Regions from separate parts of the Homo sapiens genome. Here region 1 is linked to region 2. The links are contacts of gene promoters, found by promoter capture Hi-C in blood cells and fetal thymus (Javierre and others, 2016). All regions are on one chromosome and are shown on one strand. Each heading gives the region's core, a stretch centred on a gene start or on the middle of the fragment in contact. The rest is flanking DNA. Distances are from core to core; before and after follow the strand shown. Region 1 overlaps SH3GL3 (SH3 domain containing GRB2 like 3, endophilin A3). Region 2 holds the start of SH3GL3 (SH3 domain containing GRB2 like 3, endophilin A3).

Evidence for each region. The method cuts DNA at HindIII sites, captures the fragments that hold promoters and counts their contacts. A CHiCAGO score of 5 or more calls a contact.
Region 1: a fragment that was not itself captured here is called in contact with the fragment with the promoter of SH3GL3 in region 2 in 1 of 17 cell types (fetal thymus); the score reaches 6.7 in fetal thymus.

Annotation. Positions count from the first base shown.
Region 1 is chr15:83,532,989-83,535,688 of GRCh38, forward strand. All of the region lies in intron 1 of SH3GL3 (SH3 domain containing GRB2 like 3, endophilin A3), which reads left to right. Among named protein-coding and RNA genes, the nearest start is that of SH3GL3, 87 kb to the left of the region's middle. The HindIII fragment of the contact is 3,041 bases long and covers 1-2,700 here.
Region 2 is chr15:83,446,078-83,448,777 of GRCh38, forward strand. SH3GL3 (SH3 domain containing GRB2 like 3, endophilin A3) reads left to right here and starts at 1,264. Exons shown (of 9, transcript NM_003027.5): 1 at 1,264-1,501. The coding sequence starts at 1,457. RefSeq lists an enhancer at 960-1,119. The HindIII fragment of the contact is 8,141 bases long and covers 1-2,700 here.

The DNA of each region.
Region 1 (2,700 bases), core at 59-2,558, 87 kb after region 2:
TTCTGGCATAGTGATCATTGCCTGGGCTGGGCCCATTGACACTGTATGCAAAATTTGGGTTCTGTTAGTGAGGAAGAGGAGAGTGTTTATTGAGTGGCCAGCTAACAGTGTTGGACTTACATAGGTTGAGAAATGAATGGGAAGTGAGAAAATGGGGACAGTCCATGTCTATGACACCTTAAGAGGCAGTTCTGAGGAGTATGGACTAGAAAGGGTGGTAGCCAGAGTAGAATATGGGGAAATAATGGAAGGTTACATTCTAGAATATGAAAGGCTTGAGTACATGTAAATGTTGATGTGAGTGGGAGAGATTGAAGATGCACCGGAGCTTTCACACCCCAGGACAATACCTAGAGACTTGGGATGGGTGAGGGCTGTGCTTTTCTATTGTAAAATGGCAGAAGGGGTTCATATAGGAGCTTCTGAAGACAAATCGGTTAATAGGAAAGAGCATATACAGAGGCTTAGGATCTGGAAATACAGTCATTTAAAACTATCCATGTTCAGTATCCATGTGTTTCCAGTTTAAAGACTACTGCTTTAAATCATATAACAGTTTCTGTTCAGTCATTAGCATTTCCAGTTCTATGTGATAATCACAAGTTGAATGCTGACTTGATGTTAATTTTCTCCCCCTCCCCAGCTAGGGTTGGCCTCGGGTAGGGCATTGCCACAGGGAGGGTGTGTGCTCCCTTTGAGTCTCTTACCCCAGAGTTTCTTGCCCTCTGGGTTTGGAGTGTAGGATGAAAGGAGGGGAAAGTGGGGCAGGGAAGTTTCTGTTTCTTTGGTGATTGCAGTATGGCTTTGATCTCTCTGGTCCCTGGCAGGTGTTCAGAGCTGACTTATTCGCAGGTGTCCCATTTCCTTGCTGAGCCAATTTGTCTTCCCTCTGGTTAGTATTTACTTGACTCATGCAATGTACGTTTTTATTTCTGGTGGTACTAACTTTTTAAGGATCCTCTTGGGAAGTATCTCCTTAACTTGGGACTCACTTCTGGTCCCAGGGTTTACCAGGCTTTGATCTGCCTTGATGTTTGGGGTGCTGTGTTTCAATATGTTCCCATAGATTGTGTTGGAAGCTCAATTGCTACTGTAACAGTATTAAAAGGTGGGCCTTTAGGAGGTGATTAGGCCATGAGGTCTTGCTCCCGTGAATGGAGAGAGTTTGGCCTCTATTTTCTCTCTATCTCATGTGCTCCCTCCTCCCTTCTGTTTTCTGCCATGGGATTTACCCTTGCCAGATGCTGGTGCCATGCTGTTGGACTTACTGGCCTCCAAAACTGTGAGCTAAATAAATATCTTTTCTCTATAAATTACCCAATTGCTGGTATTCTGTTATAGCAGCAGAAAATGGGTCAAAACAGGAGTGGAGTTACTTCTAGTGCAGCAGTGTCTCTCTGTCTTCCCCTCTCTCTCCCTCTCTCCCTCTCTCCCTCCCTCTTGTTGGCTTAGGCCGAAAGATTCGAAACCTTTGTGTCTATGTATTTTTAAAAGTTCACAGATCCATTGACCTGATTCTGATATTCACAGGGGCTCCCTACAGACCAAGCAAATTTAATGGGAAAAGAACACTTGACTTCATAAAGAAGAAATTTAAAATATATTTTATAAGAAAAATGAATAAAATTTAAGAAAATAAAAATTAACTCCAGGTCCTAAAAACAAAACATTCAGAAAAATAGTTACCTACTTCTGTTCCCCTCAGACTTGTTCTCAGCAACATTAAATGCCAGAAAGCAGCAGAAATTGCAATATTTCCAGAGTATTGAGGAAGGAATAGAATGACCCTCAAATACCATACTTAGCTTGATGCATAGAAGGCACTAATTTTGTTGTTGTTGTTAAACAAATACCAGAATGCAAATGTCTTTTCTCTGGGGATGGTTGCAGAAAAGTATGTGTAACTCATTGTACTTTTGTAAAAGAAAAACATGTGTTTGTATATGTAAATTTAGGAAAAAGGTGGAAAGAATTGTCTCAGACTGATTAAACCCAGGAATGGAGGGAACTTTACTTCTTAATTCTTATAATGAAGTCAAAGTTTTAATAAAATTTGGTAATATTTTACATTTTGTATTTTTTAGTTTTTGAAAAATACCATCTATGTAAAAAAAAGGCAAACACTATCATAGATCAAAGCCTAATTATACAGTTTTTTTATTTAAAACAAGCTGTTCTTGCATATTCATTAAAAAAAAAACTCAGGTATATTATTTGTGCCAGAACAGTCTTTAGACCTATATTTATTGGTGAACTTTAAGAATAAAACATTGTCAGCTTCAACCTTCTATGTCCTTTTAAAGGTGATTAAACTTTCCTAGGTTGGACAGGATGGCTTGAGGAGAATGACGTACATTAATTTTTCTAGCCAAATTATTTCATGTGGCTCAGAACCCATTCAGTCATTCTATTATACAATCTGATCTTTTAAACTCATCTAAATAGCTACTCGACATTGTCCTTATCAGGCCTAGGTCAATGATAAAGGTACATAACAGAATAAATCTCCCTAAAGGAAGAAAGGAAAAGATTAACTCTCTCCCAAATCCCCATGAAACTTCATGTTCCTACATGGACCTGTTTGTAGTCTGGTCCCCAGACACTGTTGAGATCTGGGAACACGGGGTCCCAGAAAGAAAGCAGCCTTCATGATTAATTCACTTTCAAAGGTTCTGCCTTAACCATTCAGGGTGTTCTAAA
Region 2 (2,700 bases), core at 14-2,513:
TAACCCTCTGACTGGCTGCCCTTATCCCACGATCTCCACTAAGTTCAAGCATTTTTTCCCCAGTATCAGAGGAGGAACACTGTTTATTCCAGTCTACATGCTTCAAGTAGAAGTGAGGAAACCAAGGCCCAGAGAGGTGTGTACTTACTTGCCCAGTCCTCACTAGGATGAAGTCAGGGTTAGGACTAGCCCCGACTGGGCGCTGGGAGCTAACAGCTAGGGGAGGAACTGCATGACTTTTGTCCTGGAGAAATGTTATGGCAGGTGGACACCAGGGCACAGGCATATACCCGAAGTGTCCAGGGCAGACAGGGACTGCTCGTCACCCCAGATGGGACCTGCTAAGGGCCCAAAAAGAGACTGAAGGTGGGAAATGTTTTTGTTTTTCAGTGTGAAGCGTTGCCAAACATATATTCTAGGTTTGGGAATCCTCGGGACCTTTGGAAGCCAGATTCAGCGAAGATGCTGTACCTTTTGGGGATAGCTCTAACACGAGGTTAACGCAATGCTCCATGTCCCTGGCTGGGCTTAGCTGTGAGTGCGTCGACCTCTGGACTCTGTGCAAATGGACACTCTGTAACTGACACAGCTGGTAGGGGTTACCGAGAGAGCTGGGTTCCTGGTCTGGTGGACTCCGCCGGATATGCAACGAGCTCTTTATGGCACCTTGGAGATGGTTGCTTTTAGTGCCGTTGACAGCGGGCTCAGAGCACCAAGTGAGCTAGCACCGTATTTATTAGTAAATTACTCCATAACTCTAGGGCTCCCAGAAGACCAAAATCATTTGAGCAGATTGCACCCAGAGCACCGCGTGGAGAGAGAAGAAAGCCCGCCACCCACAGACCGCTTCCTCCTACCACAGGTCCCCCATCGAGTTGCATTTGTTGTCCCTCCCTAGGCGCATTTCTGAGCCTTCCTTTCTTAAACATACACCGAGCGAAAATGCGCCGGAGGGAGGCGATGTTGCCTGTGAGCCAAAGCCGGTTCGGCACCAAGACAGAAGCAGAGAGAACTGATCTCTCTCCCGGTACCCATGACAATCTCAGAGCTAGATCTATATCGTCCCGCGCCCAGCAAGAAGCACTGTGTGACTGTACTCCCCCGACCCCCAGGACATCCCCACGCCCAGCTTCCCAGGCCGGTCTTCTGCGCGGCTCAAGTAGCCCAGGTCTCCACGCAACAATGAAGCGTGGGCGGCCCCAGCAGCTTCATTTGCATATCGCCGCGGCTTGGCCAATGGGCTGCGCAGGGGCTTTGGAACGCAGTGTTGCCATCGGCGTGCGCGCGTGTGTGCGAGTGTGACAGCGGCTGTGGCTGTGGCCGTGGCCGTGGGAGGCGGGCCCGGCGGAGCCCAGCCGCGGGGGGACCGGCCCGGGCTCCCGCTCCCCGAGCGCGTCGCGGCCGCGTGGCCCAGCCGAGCCTTGAGACCACCCCGCCCCTGCCGGTCGCAGTCGCGATGTCGGTGGCCGGGCTGAAGAAGCAGTTCCACAAAGCCAGCCAGGTAGGGAGGCGCAGAGGAGGGAAGGAGGGAGGGGGACGCGGAGGCTGCGGCCCCCCGAGGCTCCCGGGCCTTTGGGACTCCTGTTCCCTGAAGGGCCTCTCTCGGGGCTCAATTTCTTCCCGCCTAGGAGGGCGCGAGGGTGGGGTGAGGGGCCGCCTGCTCTCTCCTCGGCGTCTTGGCGCCTTCTCCTTCCCATTCCCTGGCCCCCGGCTCTGCCCTGGGCCGTTGTAAATCGGAGAGATTCTGCGGAGCGGAGGGCAGAGGTGGCGGCCGCGGGGACTCGGGAGGCGGAGACGGAGTGGGCGTGGGGGGGCCCCTACCCGCGCGAGGGGAGGACGACCACAGGGAGTACGATGCCGGCAGGGCCTCCCCCGAGTCTCCAGCCGTTTGGTTGGGAGAGCCTCGTGGGGGGCCCATCCTCCACCGGCCACCGGCGCCTCCAGAGATGCTGTGTATTTGGCGCTTGGCTGTGTCCCGCTGAGCTCCCCGCGCGCGCATCGAAATGGCCCCGTCTGGACTGTGCCCGGCTCCCCGGCTGGGGCTCTCTACCGCGGTCCTTCCCCTCCCCACCGTCTTCCCGGTGTCGGCCCGGGGCTGGGCATCACGCTTCTGCTCTTACAGAGCTGACAGCCTGCAGGGGAGACACGGAGACAGACACGTAAACAAACAGTGCTAGACACACCTCCACGCACAGAGGATGACAAATAACACAGTGGGGGCGTCAGGGAGAGCTTCCCGGAGGAGGAGACATGTCATTTGAGAATTAAGTATGAGGAAGAATTATGGCTGAGGGTGTGGGATGATAGGAGGAAAGCCGTTCTGAGCAGAGGAAACAGGAAAACAGGAGGGGAGACATGAAATTGATGTGTGTGTGTGTGTGTGTGTGTGTGTGTGTGTGTGTGTTGATGACAAGCAAATTTGTTTTTCAACATCAACATTGCAGGCTCTTCCAGCTATGGCAGAGCTCACGTTGTAAAACCTGTTCCCCACCAGCACCGCTGGGTCTGTTGCTTCTCACCACCTCTCCCCGCAACCCCAGCCCCCATTTTGCTAGAGCCAGGGTAGACAGATTTCATTCAACGTCCACATTTGTGGTGAGGTCTCATCCTGCTTCTCCCACAAATTGGCCCATAGAAAGCAACTGCAATTAGAAGATTCTCTTCTTCTAGCCCCAGTTCCAGGCTGAAAGGCACTGCTGT